Linked DNA regions of Homo sapiens: all the other regions are linked to region 4. Evidence: promoter capture Hi-C in 16 types of primary human blood cells and fetal thymus (Javierre and others, 2016). All regions are on one chromosome and are shown on one strand. The core of a region is centred on a gene start or on the middle of the fragment in contact, and the rest is flanking DNA. Distances in the headings are between cores, read along the strand shown. Region 1 overlaps DIS3L2 (DIS3 like 3'-5' exoribonuclease 2). Region 2 has its middle 22 kb from the start of ALPI. Region 3 has its middle 7.0 kb from the start of ALPP. Region 4 holds the start of DIS3L2 (DIS3 like 3'-5' exoribonuclease 2). Region 5 holds the start of ALPI (alkaline phosphatase, intestinal). Region 6 holds the start of ALPG (alkaline phosphatase, germ cell). Region 7 has its middle 37 kb from the start of ALPP.

What was found. The method cuts DNA at HindIII sites, captures the fragments that hold promoters and counts their contacts. A CHiCAGO score of 5 or more calls a contact.
Region 1: a fragment that was not itself captured here is called in contact with the fragment with the promoter of DIS3L2 in region 4 in 1 of 17 cell types (fetal thymus); the score reaches 5.2 in fetal thymus.
Region 2: a fragment that was not itself captured here is called in contact with the fragment with the promoter of DIS3L2 in region 4 in 1 of 17 cell types (naive CD8 T cells); the score reaches 6.6 in naive CD8 T cells.
Region 3: a fragment that was not itself captured here is called in contact with the fragment with the promoter of DIS3L2 in region 4 in 1 of 17 cell types (neutrophils); the score reaches 5.4 in neutrophils.
Region 5: a contact is called between the fragment with the promoter of ALPI here and the fragment with the promoter of DIS3L2 in region 4, in 2 of 17 cell types (naive B cells and M2 macrophages). The highest score is 8.9, in naive B cells.
Region 6: the fragment with the promoter of ALPG here is called in contact with the fragment with the promoter of DIS3L2 in region 4 in 6 of 17 cell types (neutrophils, fetal thymus, monocytes and 3 more); the score reaches 7.0 in neutrophils.
Region 7: a contact is called between a fragment that was not itself captured here and the fragment with the promoter of DIS3L2 in region 4, in 1 of 17 cell types (neutrophils). The highest score is 5.4, in neutrophils.

What each region holds. Positions count from the first base shown.
Region 1 is chr2:232,255,789-232,258,581 of GRCh38, forward strand. All of the region lies in intron 12 of DIS3L2 (DIS3 like 3'-5' exoribonuclease 2), which reads left to right. Among named protein-coding and RNA genes, the nearest start is that of MIR562, 85 kb to the left of the region's middle. The HindIII fragment of the contact is 3,979 bases long and covers 1-2,793 here.
Region 2 is chr2:232,432,887-232,435,586 of GRCh38, forward strand. No RefSeq gene overlaps it. Among named protein-coding and RNA genes, the nearest start is that of ALPI, 22 kb to the right of the region's middle. RefSeq lists an enhancer at 1-108. The HindIII fragment of the contact is 6,734 bases long and covers 1-2,700 here.
Region 3 is chr2:232,384,447-232,387,146 of GRCh38, forward strand. It overlaps the pseudogene ECEL1P2. Among named protein-coding and RNA genes, the nearest start is that of ALPP, 7.0 kb to the left of the region's middle. The HindIII fragment of the contact is 814 bases long and covers 880-1,693 here.
Region 4 is chr2:231,960,400-231,963,212 of GRCh38, forward strand. DIS3L2 (DIS3 like 3'-5' exoribonuclease 2) reads left to right here and starts at 1,314. Exons shown (of 21, transcript NM_152383.5): 1 at 1,314-1,366. RefSeq lists an enhancer at 1,192-1,281 and a silencer at 1,412-1,571. The HindIII fragment of the contact is 14,565 bases long and covers 1-2,813 here.
Region 5 is chr2:232,454,869-232,457,711 of GRCh38, forward strand. ALPI (alkaline phosphatase, intestinal) reads left to right here and starts at 1,285. Exons shown (of 11, transcript NM_001631.5): 1 at 1,285-1,398; 2 at 1,481-1,597; 3 at 1,712-1,827; 4 at 2,031-2,205; 5 at 2,282-2,454; 6 at 2,697-2,831. The coding sequence starts at 1,332. The HindIII fragment of the contact is 3,629 bases long and covers 1,155-2,843 here.
Region 6 is chr2:232,405,396-232,408,095 of GRCh38, forward strand. It overlaps ALPG (alkaline phosphatase, germ cell), which reads left to right and starts at 1,449. Exons shown (of 11, transcript NM_031313.3): 1 at 1,449-1,566; 2 at 1,662-1,778; 3 at 1,891-2,006; 4 at 2,199-2,373; 5 at 2,450-2,622. The coding sequence starts at 1,500. RefSeq lists an enhancer at 1,513-2,700. The HindIII fragment of the contact is 10,567 bases long and covers 1-2,700 here.
Region 7 is chr2:232,340,844-232,343,543 of GRCh38, forward strand. It overlaps a transcript of DIS3L2 not described here and the pseudogene NRBF2P6. Among named protein-coding and RNA genes, the nearest start is that of ALPP, 37 kb to the right of the region's middle. RefSeq lists an enhancer at 1,998-2,507. The HindIII fragment of the contact is 5,996 bases long and covers 1-2,700 here.

The sequences.
Region 1 (2,793 bases), core at 54-2,553, 300 kb after region 4:
GTACTATGGAAGTCGCCTATTTCAGCCATTTACTTAGGTCAAAAACCACGGGGTCATTCTTGACTTTGGTCTTTCTCTCATGCTACATCTGCATCCAGTCTGCCAGTGTGTCATCGCTGCTTTGCTTTCTGAATGCCTCCAGAATCAGCCCCCTTCCTTAACTACCGGCACTAATACCTGCGTCCAAGCTATTCTCTCTCACCTTGACAGATACAGTGGCCTCCTGACTGTCCTTGCAGCCTCTGCTCTTGCCCCACGTCATCTCCTCTGCATACAGCTGTCAGAGTGATCCTTCTGAATCTTAAGCCTTGTCTCTCCATTAAAACTTTCCAATCTCTCATTCACAATAAAAGATAAAACGCCCCCTTACAATGGTAACTTTTTCCTTGTTCTTTTCTGCCTGTCTTCTGTGCTGGAAATGCATAGACTCCAGAGTCTTCCTGCAACCAGCATCTCCTCTCATGTCCTGGAGCATTGCTGCTCACAGGAGAGAAGCTGCCTTTTATGTGTAACTGAGCTCTCTGCTGTGCTGCAGGCCCCCTCCCCAGCTCCAGGGACCTGACATCAGTCAAGGTTGAGTTTCCCCACCTGCCATCTTCTCATATCCTTCAAGCCTCTGCCCCTTCCTTGTAGCTGAGCAGATCTTTTCCTCCCTGCTTAACTCATTCCATTCTGAGAATTGGACATTGTAGAACTATGTTGTGTACCAGTTGGGGCTTTCTCAGCTGAACCTTCAGTGCTACTTGGGAATCCTTTTATTCGTCACTAGGTTCCAAGCCTTTTTTCTTCGGTTCCAACCTCAACCTTGCTTTCCACTCCTCTTTCCTTTAAGACCCATCATTCTCCCAAGTACCTTTCATTCCTCCTTCTTGGAAACGAGAGAGGCTAGCCAACTTCAACTGCTGAGGTCCCCCTTTCCACATCAAAATTTCTCTCTGCCTTGCCGCTACTTAGGAGGCTGAGGCAGGAGGATCACTTGATCAGATTGAGAACAGATCGAGACCCTGTTTCTAAAATATAAATGAATGAATAAATAAATAAATATTTGGCTGGGCATGGTGGCTCATACCTTTAATCTCAGCACTTTGGGAGGCTGAGGTGGGCAGATCACCTGAGGTCAGGAGTTCAAGACCAGCTTGGCCAACATGGTGAAACCCTGTCTCTACTAAAAATACAAAAATTAGCCAGGCATGGTGGTGGGCACCTGTAGTCCCAGCTACTTGGGAGGCTGAGGCAGGAGAATTGCTTGAACCCAGGAGGCAGAAGTTGCAGTGAGCCACCTGTGAAGAGAAAGCGAGCATTCTGCTGGGTGTATAAGTGGATTGTGTGCAATGGTGCTTCAGTCTAGATATTCATGCCTTAATCTTACTGTGTTCGTCTCTCCCTTTTTCAGGGGAAGCCTGAGCTTTGCTTAGTGATGATGGCCCTAGTGTGAGGACTGGGGCTTGTGGAGTAGCCTCTTGTTTGCTCTAGCCACCCCACTGCCTCTGTCCTCTGCAGTTACTAGGACCTTCCCTAGCAAGTTTGCGTCCTTTCCACCACAGGCATGACCTGCCTCTCTCTGCTCTCTTCCAGCCCGTCCTCTCTCTGCCTAGTCCTTTTCAGACACTTGCTTCTTGGCACCTTTGACTTTTCTCACTGCCGGGCTGCCCCTACTAAGGATGATTGCCCTGTTTTCGTAGCTCTAAGAAGCAGCCAAAATCCACTCCACCTCCCTCCCACCCTCCGTCACTCCAAACAGCCTGGTTTTGTTCCAGTCAGGAAAAGGTTTCTTTCTTCCTCATATTTTTTTGAACAAAATATTTTGCATACGGAAGCCCGGAGCTCCTGCAAAAGTGATTTTGTACCTAATTATTTAAGATTATAAGTTAACCCCACTTGCAGTTTTTTCAGCCAGAGATACATCTTAATGAAGTGCTGACATTTTTCAGAGGATAAATTTAAAGATACATTTGAATGGAACTGAATAATTTTCAAAGGAAGTGGTCATACTTCTGTATCAATATAGAAAGTTGATGTGTGTTTGAGACATACTTGGTTTATTTTACTTCATCATCTGCCTCTGTCTAATTTATGACCTTCACCTGAAATGGAATAAAAGTAACACTAGATTTTGGGTCTGTCTTTAACTGGATCTGGTCTTGGCCGCCACTTAGGAGTTTGTATGACTTTTGACAAGTTCCTGGCCTGTTTTCTCAACTGTAAAATGGGCTGAACAATGCACTCCTCCCAGATGTGTTAAGGAGATTTTAGAAGTAGTAGGTTTAAGAATACTCCGAGTGTTAGACTACTTCCGGTCTTACTTAGTACAGTAGGTAGGCCTTGAATTACAGTGCTGTAGTACATAATTATGTACTCCTTTTTCAGTAGTTTTTTCCCAGTAATACGCCTTCAGTCAGTGTTGGCACTGTATTTAATTTGACATTCTGAACAGTGGTATTCCAGAGTATGTGCAGTAAACTCACCTGCCTACAGAAGAGTGACCCAAATCCTGTGATTAAGAAAGAAAAGAGGGGCCAGGTGTGGTGGCTCATGCCTGTAATCCCAGCACTTTGGGAGGCCAAAGCGGGCGGATCACGAGGTCTGGAGTTAGAGACCATCCTGGCCAACATGGTGAAACCCCGTCTCTACTAAAAATACAGAAAATGAGCCGGGCATGGTGGCATGTGCCTGTAGTCCCAGCTACTCAGGAGGCTAAGGCAGGAGAATCACTTGGACCCGGGAGGCGGAGGTTGCAGTGAGCCCAGATCGTGCCACTGCACTCCAACCTGGTGACAGAGTGACAGAGTGACA
Region 2 (2,700 bases), core at 117-2,616, 470 kb after region 4:
CCTCATCCAACTGCAGCGGGACAGAGGCAGAGGCAAAGTGGGGGCCTGGAAGCAAGGCTTCTAAGGTGGCAACAGTGTCCCAGCCCAGCCAGGCGGTGGCTGCAGGGGCCCATGCGTGTGCGCCTGTGCCTGTGACCAGCCTCAGGGCCTAGGGGCAGGGAGCAGACCAGGGGAAAGGCTCTGTCCCTGGGGGGTGGCCGGGCAGGTGGAGAGCCAGGTTCAGATGGGTGACCCTGGGCTCTGCAGCTGCTGTGATCCTGGCAGAGGGGAGGAGGCGCCCTCGGCAGTCAGGAGCAGGATGATGGTAGTGACAAGGCCCTGCTGTGGACTGAGCCTCCCAGCCTAGGAAACCTGGCTCTGGCCTCCCCTGCAGCATGTGATGTTTGGCTCCAGAGGCCTTCTCCTCTGGGCTTTTCCATGCCTGTGAACTGGGCCCCATTCATTTCCCTGTGGTTTCATGGAAACGTCCAGTGCATTCAGGAGGTTGCAGTGTGCCCAGGAGGAGAGGGGTCAGCGAGAGGCACGAGCTGTGACTGGTGGGCCACCCAGAGGCCACGGCACCCTCTGCTGGAGACTGGCAGCAGGGTGCATGGCCAGCTGTGGGTGGGGGTCCATCAGTCAAGCAGCTGCACTTTCTCCCCATCCCCCTCCCCGACCCAGGCAAGGTGCTCTGCCTGCGGCTCCCTTTCTCCAGGCCTCCACTTTCCAGCTCCCAGGCACCCAGCCCCACCCGGCCTGGCCTGGAACAGAGCTGCCACCAAGATCTCTTCCACTTTCCCTCCCCAGCAGCCTGCAATTCAGTGCTCCGTAGACCCCTGCCTCCCGGGGCCCTGCGGTTCCCACCACACTACACTCAATTTCCAGCTGCTAAGAACACAGCAGGTTCTACGTAAAGGTGGCCGTCACCTGCACCCCATGGGCTGCCCGGCCATGGAGAACGGGCCATGGTTGGGTACACAGCTTCTGAGACAGGCCCAGCAGCTGCCTTCATGGCCTCGGCAGAGCCCAGGGCTCTGGAGCTTACAGGGAGCATGTGCTCAAGTGTGGAAAATTTGGTCTGCAGAAGAAATGAGGCTGAAATTGGCTGGGAGCAATTCTTATCAAAGCCACGTTAGCAGTTTTCAGCAAGAGCTAATTGAACAAGCTCTGTGAGTGGCCTCATTCCATTAGCAGGAGCCTCCCACAGAGCGTGACAAGGGCCCTGGTGGCTGAGGGCAGAAGAGGCTGTTTCTGTCCCACATTTGCCTTTGGCCTTTGAAAATGGACACATTTTCAGCTTTGGGCACTGGTCCTGCTCCTCTGCCCCGGCTCCCGCTCATTTCCAAAGCCACTCTCTGAGTGTCCTGTGTGGGGAAGGGGTGAGGTGAGTTTCTCAGCACTTCAGCAGGTGCGTGGATCTGAAACAGGACAGCCTTGGAGACACGTCCTCCTTGCCAGGCAGGGTTGAGAGGCCAAGTGCAGAGGAGCCGAGAGTCTGAGGGCCAGGCCCGAGCAGTCTAGGTCAGGAGATTGGGCCCTGCCTTAGCAACGTGCCTGGGCCTGAGGAGAGACCCACTGCCGGCCCAGTCTCCCTCGACTCCTCTGGAGCCATGGAGTCCTCAGGGAGGGGACAGGAGGCAGCTGGGGTGTGGCCAGGCCAGAGCTGAGCTGATGGAACCTGAACCCCACTTTGTGGGGTGGCCATGCTCTCTGCTTTCTCCTCTCTGCTGTGCCCAGTAGACTGGAAAAGATAGATCCAGGGGTGCAGTCCTCTGACCTGAGCTCCAGGGTCACCTGTCTGGCCTCCAGCCTGTTTCCTCCATGCTAGGGCTGTCAGGGCAAGTGTCTGACCTGGGCCCGCAGGGCGCTGGTCAAGGGGCCCAGGGAGGTGGGGTCCAGCCCTCTGTGCCCCTGACTGACTGTCTGATCTGGGCAAGGTCCTTCATCTCTTGGCCACTGTCACATGGCTTGGGCGACACTCCTCAGTGCCTCCAGGATGCTGTAAGGAAGCGGCATCTGACTGCACCCACCCTTTCTGCAGGGACCATGGTCAGGACAGAGCTGTGGACACTGAGCAGGGGCTGGCCTCAGGACCCACCCAGACAGGCCTCCTCATCTCCCCCAACACCACAGCGGTGCTCCGTCCTGGGAGCTGGCCAGTTGCCCTCCCCAGGACAGGACCTCAGGCTTCCACCCTGAGCTCCTTCCTCCTGCCCTGGGCCCTGCGGGCTGTCCCATAAGCTGGCTGCTCTCCTGGGGTCTTTCCCTCTGTGAGCTCCTCTGCAGATACATTCCGGCCTTTGGGATGCTTCAGACAGCAAGCAGGAAGCAGACAGACACCCCGCATCTCCCCCAGGCCAACTCCGGCCCCATCAGCAGCAACCTGGTGGGGAACTGTCCACACCTGCCAGTCTCCCTCCCTCCGTCCTCTTGGGTTTCTGAACCAGCCTCTCCAGCCGCACTGCCACTGTGACTTACTCCTTCTGGCCAAATCCAAGGGCCCTGTGCAAGCCCCTGCTCTTCTTGGCAGCTCTCACACTGGGGACAACCCGCAGGCTCCTCTGAAGTCCCAGAGCTGCTTCTCGGCCACTTCCTACTGCCTCTGCCTGGGAGCTTATCAGCTCCTGCCCCGCTGTGCCCAGTTGGGAAGAGGGCGCCCTTGTGGCCCCCAGTCTCCAGCCTTGCTCTTTCTTTTCTTTTTTGAAATGAAGTATCACTCTG
Region 3 (2,700 bases), core at 37-2,536, 420 kb after region 4:
TCTCAGGACAGTTTTTTTTCTTTTCTAATTCTAGGTTTTAGTGGCTGTCATAAAAATATGGGAGGTGAACAGAAGGTAGACACCATTAGCTGGCCTTACTAAATCATCATACTCATTGTTACATTCCATCCACCAAATATGCAAAGGTTTTGGTAAAATCCAGCTAGTGTATTTCTATCTTCCCAGTTGTCAGTGGGTTAGAAAGTTCCTCTTTCTAACCAATGTGGAGGTGCTGCATGTTTAGGTTTTACATGAGTGCTCACACCCAAGGACTTCTATATTTTAAAAGTGAAGACATTTTAAAAACAGATTATTCTGGCCAGGAGTTGTGGCTCATGCTTGTAATCCCAGCCTTTTGGGAGGCCGAGACAGGCAGATCACTTGAGGTCAGAAGTTTGAGACCAGCCTGGCCATCATGGTGAAATCCTGTCTCTACTAAAAATACAAAAATTAGCCAGGTGTGGTGGCAGGCACTCGTAATCCTAGCTACTCAGGAGGCTGAGACAAGAGAATCGCTTGAATCCGGGAGGCAGAGGTTGCAGTGAGCCGAGATCGCACCATTGCACTCCAGCCTGGGTGACGAGAGTGAAACTCCATCCCAAGAAGAAGAAGAAGAAGGAAGAAGAAGAAGGAAGAAGAAGAAGAAGAAGAAGAAGAAGAAGAAGAAGAAGGAGGAGGAGGAGGAGGAGGAGGAGGAGGAGGAGGAGGAGGAGGAGGAGGAAAAGAAGAAGAGGAGGAGGAAGAGGAAGAGGAGGAGGAAGAAGAGGAAGAAGAAGAAGAGGAGGAAGAGGAAGAGGAAGAAGAGGAAGAAGAAGAAGAAGAAAAAGAAGAAGAAGAAGAGGAAAAAGATTATTCTGAAATTAGGTCATTCTGTTCTCAAGCTTCCTTTTCCTGTGTAGGTATGAGTGTTTATGAGTCTAATACATTGTTTACCCCAAAATCAAGTGTCAAATAAATATTTTCAAACTTCTGCTCAAAAATTTGCTCTTTCCTTAGCAAGAGTTTTGTTTTGTTTGAGACAGAGTTTCGCTCTTATTGCCCAGGCTGGAGTGCAATGGCGCGATCTCGGCTCACTGCAACATCTGCCTCCCGGGTTCAAGCAATTCTCCTGCCTCAGCCTCCTGAGTAGCTGCGATTACAGGCACCCGCCACCACGCCCAGCTAAGTTTTGGTATTTTTAGTACCCAAAGTTGATGAGTCGACCTGCTCCACGCGTAATTTCAAGGTGGTCACGTTGGGGTCACCCCTTGCAGCTTGTAGCTGCTGTGAACGCCAGAGAATGAAGTACTCAGACAATTCCAGCTGAGTGGGGCAGGCGGCAACTCCTCTGAGAGAGTGCCGCCCCAAAATCCATCCGCCAAGTATTTATTAGAAGGCTTGTTAAACCACAAACATCCACCAGATGGGTTTTTGCCGTGGGGTCATGAGGCACATACGGCCTTGTAAAAGCACTCAGACCACATTCCTAGGAGGCTGTTTTCAGCGCTCCTTATCACACATTCCACTCCTTGTCCTGTTTTCAGTGTCAAGGAGTTACATTCTCACGCACAAACAACGTACACACAGTGCCTCAGTATTTTTCCATGCCTCGAGCTCAAATGCCTTGTACATAAGTTTGAATATATCGTCGTGCACCCCCCACATCTCCCCCTTCTTTAATTCTTAGAGCTTGCTGGTTATCCAACGCAAAATAAGCTTCTATCCTTCTTCCCTGGTCATAGATGCTTCGGGTGGCAGCACAGAGCCATTTACAGAAGCCTAGCAATCAGATACAAAAAAGAATATAGCGGCCATCACCCTAGCAATCAGATACAAAAAAGAATATAGCGGCCATCACCCAAATGCGTATGTTTAACCCAGACAACCAAGTATTCGGGTTCAGTCATTGAAAGCCTTCTTGTAATTGCTGAAGGGTATTTGTTTGTAATTGCTGCGAGACCATTCTTCAAGTTGTTTCTTCAACTAGACCTCAAATGCTTTGTACATAAGCTTGAATATATTGCCGCGCACCCCACCCGCTCCCCACTGCCTGCCAGAGGGCTGGGAAATGGCTGCACCGCTGAACACCGCAGTTACCCCGGGGAAATTACTTATGACCTCCTCCCGCGCGCTGCCACTGTGCGCTCCCTCCCCTCCCCTGCTTTCCCTTCCTCTCCTCTCGCGCACCCTCCTCCCGCCCTCAGGGACCCCTGGGCAAGGCCACTGCGCCCCGGGTCTACGGCAGCTGGCGGGGCGCTCAACGCGCGCACTCACACGGACGACGTAGCGCAAAGAGTTCCTGTCGTCCAGGCTGACCATAAGCGAGAAGAGCGCGGCGGCGCTGTACACGCCCTGCACTTTTTTACAGCAGCCAGTTGAGGTCCCATCGCGCAGCAACCCCCCGGCGCTCCGCCGCGCCGCGCAGGTCCCAGCCCCCGCAGTCCTCGATGACCTCCAGCATGAGCAGCGGGTTCAGTCGTTCGATCTCGCGCATCTCGAGGCACAAGCGGAAGAAGGAGCGCACCTAGTGCTGGGCAGCGCCGCCGGGTCCACCCTTGGGCCGAGCCAGCAGGCGCCGCAGGCGCTCCTCGTTCTGCTAGCCGATGGCCGCGATGGTGCCGTAGGTGAGCTTGTCGTCGGGGATGGCATGGCGCCGCAGCCAGCCGCCGCAGGCGAACGAGTATAAGTCCTGGCATGGGTCGATGCTGGCGTCCAGGTTGG
Region 4 (2,813 bases), core at 64-2,563:
GCGATAGTCCGTCTCAAAAAAAAAAAAAAAAAAAAAAAGAGAAATATAGGCACAATTTAATGCATCTCTTTTCCTTTTTCAATATGGAGCATACGGTGGTTCAAGCATCTGTCCACATTGTATTCCCGAAGTTTGATCCCTACCCTGCCCTGCCCTCCCGTCTTTCCTTCCCTCTCTCTTTTTTTTTTTCTGGAGTGCAATGGTGCGATCTCGGCTCACTGCAACCTCCGCCTCCGGGGTTAAAGCGATTCACCAGCCTCAGCCTCCTGAGTAGCTGGGATTACAGGCATGTGCCACCACGTCTGGCTAATTTATTATTTTTAATAGGGACGGGGTTTCTCCATGTTGATCAGGCTGGTCTCGAACTCCCGACCTCAGGTGATCCGCCCGCCTCGGCCTCCCAAAGGGAAGTTTGATTTTTCTATGGTCACCAATGGACACTTGATCTCCATAGCTTGAGAATGGCGGCCATCCCCTCACTGGCATTCTTTCCTCTTGTGCTCTCCCGAACGTTCTGGCTGCTCTTTGGATTTCCTTTTCCTTTGCTCACATCTACAATATTGGTGTTTCCTAGGTCCCGTACTTAACGATTGTTTCCTCTCAACACGCTTCCCTGGGCGGGCTGAACTGTCGGGGGCTTTCTCGGCTGCGCTTCCTCTCTCACCTGAAACCCTCTTCCCAACCCTTTATACTAGGTCGACGTCTCCAACATCAGCTGCTCCCCACCCGTGTCTGGGTGGGCCCCTTGGGCAGGCTCCCCTAGTCTCCTTTCCTTCGATCATCCCCACGTGCAGGACGTCATCTGCTTGCTCTGCCATCAGCCTCACATCCTGAGGGCAGGGACCATGCGGGGGTTGTCCATCTCTGTATCCCCAGTGCCAGCACTGCACCTCGCCCCAAGCAGTTGTCCAATAAATGAGCAGTGAGTAAATGAAAGAATGAGCAAAGCCTTGTAACAGGAAAGGGGCCGGCGGCGTCTGCCGTGCAAGACCTGGCCCAGTGGAGCAGAGCCTGGAGGTTCAGGAGCCGGGTCTGGAAGGCTCCTTCCGGTGGAAGAGGGGCCCGGAGCCAGCCGGCGCCTGGCACAAGGCGTCTCAGAGGCCGCCCACTGGGAGCCAACCGTTGCAGCCAGTTGTCCCCGCGAGCGAGGCCGGAGAAGGCGCGGCGGCCCCTGGCCTGGCCATTTCGCCCTTGTCGCAGCTGAACCGCCGACTACGAGCTCCTGCACCGCGCACACACCCCGCGCGCTTCGCTCTCGGCCTCGCCCGGCCACCGTCGCTCTCTAGAACGCCGCGCCCGTGACCCGGAAGAGCATTCTCCTTAGCAACTGCGGGACTGCGGCGGCGCCGGCCTCCGGGGAGAAACGGTGAGGCCCTCACTCGCCTGCCCCCTGCACCGCCTAGTGCTGCACGACCCCCTCGGGACCGACCCGGGGTCTGGCCTCTGGGGGGCTCCGCGGCGCTTCGCCCGGCACCTGTGGTGGCGGCCCGGGACGAGCGTCTTCCGCCTCTGGCGTTGCTCCCCGGCCCACGCGTCTTCCCTGTCCCGCATCTCCCTCAATGTCCCCAGCTCCCCACTCTCCGCTCCTGACCGACCCGGCCTCCCAGGCCGCGCTTATAGCGCCGGGGCCCTTGTAGCCTAGGATGGCGTGAGGGGAGCGAGACCAGAATTAGAGCCTGTTGCTGTAGAGAGGACGCCTCCCGAGGCTCGGGTCACCTGTGGACGCGTTCTCTAGGGTCTTGATCGAGATGTTCAGGACTGGCAGGGATGGGGAGCCTCGGGAATCTTGAAGGGCAGCCGCTTAATTATAACATGTCCTTGACGTTTGCGCTTTCCACAGTGATACACTTTATCTCCTTTATTGATCATAGAGAGTTTTTTTTTTTAATAAACTTTTAGATATGGGGGATACGCATGCAGGTTAGTCACATGGGTATATTGCACCCAGGTATTGAGCATAGAACCCAGTAGGTAGTTTTTCAACCCACATCCCCCATCTCTCCCCTCCTTCCAGTAGTCTACAGTGTCTACCGTTACCTTTTTTTTTTTTTTTTGAGACGGAGTCTCATTCTGTCGCCCAGGCTGGAGTGCAGTGGCGCGATTCGGCTCACTGCAAGCTCCGCCTCCTGGGTTCATGCCATTCTTCTGCCTCAGCCTCCCGAGTAGCTGGGACTACAGGCGCCCGCCACCCCGCCCGGCTAATTTTTTTGTATTTTTAGTAGAGACGGGGTTTCACCATGTTAGTCAGGATGGTCTCGATCTCTTGACCTCGTGATCCGCCCGCCTTGGCCTCCCAAAGTGCTAGGATTACAGGCGTGAGCCACCGCACCCGGCCGACTGTTCCCATGTTTATGTCCATGTGCGCTCAATGTTTCTACTCCCACTTGTAAGTGTGCTCAATGTTTAGCTCCCACTTATAAGTGAGAACGTGTGGTGTTTAGTTTTCTGTTCTTGTGCTAATTCGTTTAGGATTATGGCCTCCAGCTCCATCTGTGCTGCTGTAAAGGACATGATATCTTCCTTTTTTGTGGCTGCATAGTATTCCATCCTGTACATCCACATTTTTTTTTTCCAGTCCACCATTGATGGTCACCTAGGTTGATTCCGTGTGTTTGCTATTGTGAATAGCTCAGCCGTGAACATACAACTGCATATGTCTTTTTGGTATAATGGTCTGTTTTCCTTTGGTTATATACCCAACAGTGGGATTGCTGGGTGAAATGGTGGCTCTTTAAGTTCTTTGAGAAATCTCCAAACTGCTTTCCACAGTGGCTGAACTAATTTACATTCCCACCAACAGTAGTTTAAATGTT
Region 5 (2,843 bases), core at 35-2,534, 490 kb after region 4:
GGTCCCCTGGGTTCTGAGGGCCAAGCCTGGGGTTTGAGGTAAACAGGCTCGAGTGGAGAAGGGGCTGCTGTGGTTGGGCTGGGGTGGGTGGAGCTGGAGGAGCCTTTTCTTCTTGAACCAGTTTTTGAATTGTGCTACAAAACACGGTACATCAAGTTTACCTCCTTCACCATTTTCAAGTGTACAGGGCGGCAGTGTTGAGTACACGCACAGTGTTGTGCAGCTGATCTCCAGAACATTCTCATCCTGCAACCTTGAAGCTCTGTCCCTATTAAACTCCAACTCTAACCCTAACCCCAACCCTAACCCATTGCCTCCTCCCTCAGCCTCAGGCAACCTCCATTCCACTTCTGTCTCTATGTATTTGACTCCCCTCGGGACCTCAGAGAAGTGTGTTCGTGCGTATTTGTTCTTTTGCACTGGTATATTTCACTGAGCATAATGTCCTAAGGTTCATCCATGTTGTAGCAGGTGTCAGGGTCGCCTTTGTTTTCAAGGCTGCGTGATACTCCATTGTATGTGTGCACCCTGTTTGGTTTCTCCATTTCTCTTTTGCTGGACACTTGGGTAGCTTCCAGCTCTTGGCTGCTGTGGATAATGCTGCTGGGAACATGGGTGTGCAGTTATCTGTTCGAGTCCCTAGTTCGCATTCCTTTGGCTACACACTCAGAGTGGGATGTCTGGACTGAAGCAATACTTTTGAACTCAGCCTGAGGTTACCAAACTCTCTGAACTCCTTATCAGAGGCTACACTTCTGGGTGTTCCCCGGGGCCCATGGAAAACAGACTCACCCCAGGCTCCATCTACCTGTGCAAGGGAACAGGGGTCAACCTCAAGTGCACAGGCTGCTCTGGAAGACCCAGCCCAGGTCTGGCTGACCCAGAGCACTGGCCCCTTCCCAGCCTGCGTCCTCAGGACATAGGTGTGGGCACCCATATACACCAAGTGGGTTCTAGGGCAGCCAGGCCACCCAGTGTGCCTCCTTTCACACTCCTCTGGGGCTCGTGACATTACGAGCCCTAACCCGGGCCCTGGCCTAGGCTGTGTGTTTCCAGTCTCACCTCTCTTCACACCTTGAATGAGGTGAATGAAGGAGTGGCAACGCGTCTCCCACAAGACACTGTGAGCCACACCCAGTCCCTTCCCTTCAGCAAGCTTGGCTTCAGGTCACAGGACTGGGCGGGGTCAAGATGGACACCAGGGGTGTGGGGAGGGACGTGGAGCATTTACAGCCAGGGGCAAAGTCCTCCCCTGATTTAAACCCAGGCAGCCTGCGCTGCAGCCGGTTCCTGGTGTCCCCACTTCGCCTCCCTCCTGCTGCCCCCAAGACATGCAGGGGCCCTGGGTGCTGCTGCTGCTGGGCCTGAGGCTACAGCTCTCCCTGGGCGTCATCCCAGGTAATGAGGCTCCCCAAGCTGTTCCACACACAGGGCACCCCCTCAGCCAGGCTGACCTGATCTCTACTCTCCCCCTGGCCAGCTGAGGAGGAGAACCCGGCCTTCTGGAACCGCCAGGCAGCTGAGGCCCTGGATGCTGCCAAGAAGCTGCAGCCCATCCAGAAGGTCGCCAAGAACCTCATCCTCTTCCTGGGCGATGGTGAGTGAGCAAGGCCTGTCCAGCCCCGTAGTCCTCACAGCCCCGGCACCCGGGACCTTCAGTGGTTCCAGGACAACCCTGGGGCCCAGGACTCACACATTTCTGCTCCTTCAGGGTTGGGGGTGCCCACGGTGACAGCCACCAGGATCCTAAAGGGGCAGAAGAATGGCAAACTGGGGCCTGAGACGCCCCTGGCCATGGACCGCTTCCCATACCTGGCTCTGTCCAAGGTAAGGGCTGGGCCACCTCAGAGTCCTCCAAGCAGAGGAGAGGGATCAAGGATATGGAGTGTGGCAGGAGGGAGGGAGCCAGGACAGCTGGGGCCTAAGTTAGGAGCTGGGAGCAGTTAGGATCCCAGAGGACCAGAACCAGGTCCTTGGTTGGGGTCTGGGTGTCCGCCCCGAAGTAGAGCTCAGGGTGTCTCCGTTCGCAGACATACAATGTGGACAGACAGGTGCCAGACAGCGCAGCCACAGCCACGGCCTACCTGTGCGGGGTCAAGGCCAACTTCCAGACCATCGGCTTGAGTGCAGCCGCCCGCTTTAACCAGTGCAACACGACACGCGGCAATGAGGTCATCTCCGTGATGAACCGGGCCAAGCAAGCAGGTGAGCTGGGGCCCGCTGTGGGGTCAGGACCAGGCCCAAGATCTCGGTCACCGATCCTGACCTCTGTCACCCTCAGGAAAGTCAGTAGGAGTGGTGACCACCACACGGGTGCAGCACGCCTCGCCAGCCGGCACCTACGCACACACAGTGAACCGCAACTGGTACTCAGATGCTGACATGCCTGCCTCAGCCCGCCAGGAGGGGTGCCAGGACATCGCCACTCAGCTCATCTCCAACATGGACATTGACGTGCGACCCCCGGGCCAAGGGCTGGGGCTGGGCAGAGGGGAAGGTGGCACAGGCTCAGATCCAGGCAACCAAAAGCCTGATCTGGGTCAGCAGGTTCTGGAGGTGGAGTTGGGGATGTAGAATGTGCAATACAGGCTGGGCCATTCCCACAGCCCTGGGGAGGGGAGCCAGGGGCTATGCATGAGGAGGGGGCACGGGGCCAGCCAGGCCCCCAAACCACCTGCCCCATCCATTGTCCTCAGGTGATCCTTGGCGGAGGCCGCAAGTACATGTTTCCCATGGGGACCCCAGACCCTGAGTACCCAGCTGATGCCAGCCAGAATGGAATCAGGCTGGACGGGAAGAACCTGGTGCAGGAATGGCTGGCAAAGCACCAGGTGATGGGGGCT
Region 6 (2,700 bases), core at 199-2,698, 450 kb after region 4:
ACTGTGCCCGGCCTTCAAACCACATTTTCTAGGAAAGGCCTTCCTAGGCCCCTTGTCCTATTCCAGCAACTCCCCACAATTTGATGGCCAGCACTTTGTACATCTCTAAAAACATTCCTCTTCCACTAGATTGTGCCCTCCACAAGGGCAGAGGTCTGTTTTGCCCACGATTGTGGCACATGTCACACACCCTTGAGCACTCTGGTTCCTCTCCAAATCCATTTCTCCTGAATGTGGGCCCAGATTGGTGGCTCAAGTCTGGAACCCTAGCAGTGTTGAAGGATCGCCTGAGCCCAGGAGTGCAAGACCAGCACGGGTAACAGAAAGAGATCCTGACTCTACACAAATTTTTGAAAATTAGCTTCACATAATGGAAGATACACGGGAGGCTGATGTGGGAGGATCGCTTGAGCCTAGGAGGTGTGGCGTGAATGCACCACTGCACTCCAACTTGGGTGACAGAGCCAGCCCCTGTCTCAAAAAAATAAATAAATAATAATAATAAAACAGAAAGAAAAAAATGATGGCAAGGTATCTGAACTGCAGAAATACTTTTTAACTCAGCCTGAGGCTATCAAAACATCTGATCCCCATGTGAAAGGCTACAGTTCTGGGCATGCTCAGGGCCCACCGAAAACAGAGTCCGCCCAGGCACCCTCTGCCTGTGCAAGGGAACAGGTGTCACAATCAAGTGCACAAGCTGCTCTGGAAGACCCAGCCCAGGCCTGTCTGGCCGAGGGCACTGGACTCTCCCCCACTGCGTCGTCCAAACATTAGTGCGAGTGCACCCACACAAACACATACACAATCAAACACAACATGTAAGCAATGGGCAGGACTGGCCCGGCCCCACTCAGTGTTGTCACCATTGGCCCCACAGATGCCCACAGCCCTGGAGCTCTGGGCCTAGATTCCTGCCAGCCCCACCTGTCCAGGCCAAGGCCAGATGTTGGAGCAAGGGGGTGCCAGAGCGGCAAAGCCCCCCATGTGCCCCTTTCCCACCGGGCCCAGGCTCCTGGCATCAGAAAGCTGAACCCAGTATCTGGCCCGGGCTGTGTGCTTCCAGCCTCCCCTCCTCTCGACACCAGAACAGAGCCTGGCCCCCAGCTCCCAGGAAATACAGAAAAAAAAAATGGTGGATGAACGAGTGACAGGGTGTCTAGTTCCACACAAGACACAGTGAGCAGGGGTTGGGGGAGGGGCCCCTGGCGGCAGGATGCACACTGCACTATACCCAAAATCCCACCCTTCCCTGGGGGACACCTGGTCCCACCCTAAGCTGCCTTTCTCAGGACCCCAGCCCCAGCCCAGCCCAGCCACACCCTGCCACTCCCTTCAGCCAGTGTGGCTTCAGGTCAAGAGGCTGGGCGGGGTCAAGGTGGTAACAAGGGGAGGGGCCAGGACACAGTTTTCCCTGATTTAAACCCAGGCAGCCTGGAGTGCAGCTCATACTCCATACCTGGGATTTCCGCCTCGCCGCTCTCCGACTGCTTCCAGACATGCAGGGGCCCTGGGTGCTGCTCCTGCTGGGCCTGAGGCTACAGCTCTCCCTGGGCATCATCCCAGGTAATGAGGCTCCCCCAGCTGCCCCTACACACACACACACACACAGGGCACCCCCCAGCCCAGGCTGACCTGATCTTTGCTCTCCCCCTGGCCAGTTGAGGAGGAGAACCCGGACTTCTGGAACCGCCAGGCAGCCGAGGCCCTGGGTGCCGCCAAGAAGCTGCAGCCTGCACAGACAGCCGCCAAGAACCTCATCATCTTCCTGGGTGACGGTGAGTGAGCCAGGCCTTCCAGCCCCGCAGCCCTCACAGCCCCGGCGCCCGGACCCTCAGTGGTTCCAGGACAGCCCTGGGGAGCAAGCCTCACACACTTCTGCTCCTTCAGGGATGGGGGTGTCTACGGTGACAGCTGCCAGGATCCTAAAAGGGCAGAAGAAGGACAAACTGGGGCCTGAGACCTTCCTGGCCATGGACCGCTTCCCGTACGTGGCTCTGTCCAAGGTAAGTGCTGGGCTACCTTAGAGTCCTCCAAGCAGAGAAGGGGAATCCTGGCTATGGAGTGTGGTAGGAGGGAGGGACCCTAAACAGCTGGGGCTCCAATAAGGAGCTGGAGGCAGTTGGAATCCCAGAGGACAGAGATCAGGGTCTTGTTTGTCTGCCCCAGAGAAGAGCTCAGAGTGTCTCTGTCCCCAGACATACAGTGTAGACAAGCATGTGCCAGACAGTGGAGCCACAGCCACGGCCTACCTGTGCGGGGTCAAGGGCAACTTCCAGACCATTGGCTTGAGTGCAGCCGCCCGCTTTAACCAGTGCAACACGACACGCGGCAACGAGGTCATCTCCGTGATGAATCGGGCCAAGAAAGCAGGTGAGCTGGGGCCCGCTGTGGGGTCAGGGCCAGGTGACAGACCTCTATCGCATATCCTGACCTCTATCACCCTCAGGAAAGTCAGTGGGAGTGGTAACCACCACACGGGTGCAGCATGCCTCGCCAGCCGGCGCCTACGCCCACACGGTGAACCGCAACTGGTACTCGGATGCCGACGTGCCTGCCTCGGCCCGCCAGGAGGGGTGCCAGGACATCGCCACGCAGCTCATCTCCAACATGGACATTGATGTGCGACCCCCGGGCCAAGGGCTGGGGCTGGGCAGAGAGTAGCAGGGAGGGGGCACCAGCTCAGACCCAGGCAACCAA
Region 7 (2,700 bases), core at 182-2,681, 380 kb after region 4:
CCTATCCGTGCACAGCCAGGGATTGCCCTTCGTGGAGGAAAACTTCATGAAACAAAAAACAAGCTCCGTGGGGAACACAGACCATAGAGGAAAAAGAAAGCTGTAGAAAAAGAAATGATGAATGCCTTCCTGGAGGTGAGAAAGCCATCGTGAAACGAGAGGAGGTTGCTCCAAAAAGTTCCTAGAGAGCAAAACAAGGGCCCTTGGAGGCACAATGATTGCCACCGTGGAGACACATTTCAGCGCCACTAGAGTAAAAACACTGCAGACAGGTGAGCTCTCAACAGATACATGTCCCTCGCCTTCTCAGGAAAGATGGGCAGTAATGAGGGCAGAAGCCACAAAGAGGAAACCGTAGTGACAGGACCCAGGGTCCTTCAAGCTGCGGTGGGGCAAGCGCTCGGGACAGTGGTGAGGGAGCAGCTCAGCCCCAGGTGGTGCCTGGCAACCCGCCCCGGGACGTCCCACCCAGGGCAGCAGTAGAGTGACATGGATAGAAAGCTGAATTCCCCAGAAGAGCCTGGAGGACATTGAAGTACTTCGCATAGAGCCTCGGGTTGGATTAGTAGTACATACAGAATGATCCACATGTGAAGATAAGACCATGATTGGCTCCAGAGAAAACAGCAGTGCAAGCAAGAAGAGGTAGCTAGTCACAGTTTACGATCTGGCAATAGCGTTTACACAGTCATCACCATAGAAATGCCGAGTCAGGATCTAGTTTACTGCAGAACTCTATCAGGAGGACTGGAAGATGGGGACGCTGTCCACATGCAGGGAATGCAGTTGGTGAAATGGAAGCTAAATGCTCATTTTCCTCAGTGGGAAGCTGTGGCTTGAAGATGACTGTAAACTCTCTTTCCGCCTCTTCAATCTTGACAGGCCCCAGGGCTGCTAAGCTAATATGGCAGAAGGGACACTGTGCCAGTTGCAGGCCCAGGCCTTAAGAGACTGGCAGCTTCCCCTCTCTGTCTCTGGAAACCTACCTGCCCTTCTGTAAGGAAGCCCAAGCAGCTCTGGAGAAGCCCTTATGGAGGGGCCCACTCTCAGCCCACAGCCAGCACCAGTTGGGCAGCCACGCAGACCCCCAACCTGCAAGCCAGGCCCGCTGAGGCCTCAGTACACACAGGCAGTCCCATCAGCCCTGCCCAGATGGCAGTTTTGTGATCAAAATATAGACGATAGATGATTGTTTTTTAAGGTTGTTGGGGGTAGTTTGTCACACAACGATAGATAATAGAACATCAGTAGGCTGTGTGTGTGTGTGTGTGTGTGTAGCATATATATATACACATATACATATATACACATATACATATACACATACACATATATACACGTATACATATATACACATACATATATACACATATATACACATACATATATACACATACACATATATACACATACACACATACACATATACATATATACACATATATGCATATATACACATATATACATATATACACATAGCTTCAAATTCAGACATGAAGAAGTATCTTATTTAGCAACAGTGGTAAATAGTAAAACACCAAGAGAGAGGAAAGTGGTTGCCTCAGAGATGGGAAAATGCAAGGAGGGAGACGGAACTGCTGTTTGTTTTAACAAACCTTGTAGATCTGTTTGATACTTTAAACTACATTCACATATAACTTGGACAAAAGTAAAAACTGAAGTTGAAAAAAATGTATTCATGCTAATAGCACAGGAATGATCCACAATTGGATTCCAAGGCTTCTTGTACATTCAGCATAGGGTGTATGAAAGAGTCCACTATTCTAGCAACAGATAAAATTCCTACTGACACGCAACCTCAGGTTCCCACTCGTTTAGAAGGCTGCGTATGGTCTTCTACTTAAAGCCTCAAGTAGCAGTCATGGCAGTGACAAATCCTCATTGCCTCCATAGAACCTCTAGGCTCATGTGTGAGCCCAGGCTGGGCTGGGGCCCCTGGGAGCCCAGGGTGAGGGGCCAGTCCCTGGGCAGCTCCGTGAGCCAGGAGCAGCTGTGCCACCTGGGGAAGGGCTGCACGGTCGATGGGTCTTTTCTGCAGAAGAGTGTGCCCCAGCCCTTGCTGGGCACAGATCAAAGAGGTGTTCATGGGTCGAAATCACAGATTTCAAGGGCTGATAGGAGTCAGAGTGGGGGGGCTGGGAGGGCTGAGGCAGGTTAAAGATTTGAGAGGGGCTGCTGTGTCCACAGCTGCATCACACTGCTCTGCTGTCCCCTCCATGTTCCCCGGCACTGCCGCCTACCCTGGGGTCTTCTGGAAGTAACTGAAGGCCCCCTCAACCTGGCTCATCATCAAAGCAGACTGTTGACTAGCTGCAGGCAAATATGAAGAGGCTATTTCCTGTCACAAAAAGGCCATGCTGTATCTTTCTGAAGCTATGGAGCTGACGCAGGCTGAGTAGGCTCACCTTTCACTGGAATTGCAAAGGCCTAGCCACATGAAACCGCGCCTCCTCATCCAGGAGACACGGAAAAGGGCCCAGCAGAACGCAGACAAGGATGGGGCTGCCCATCTTCAGGCCTCTCACAGCCCCTCTGCTGAAGATGCAGAAGCACAGCCCTCCACAGAGGAACGCCTGCCTGAGACTCGGGGCATATGTGACAGGGATCCAGACACACGACTGTTTTTCCTTCAGCAACAGAGCCGTGTATTGGAAGCAAAGCCCCAAAACACGATAAGAG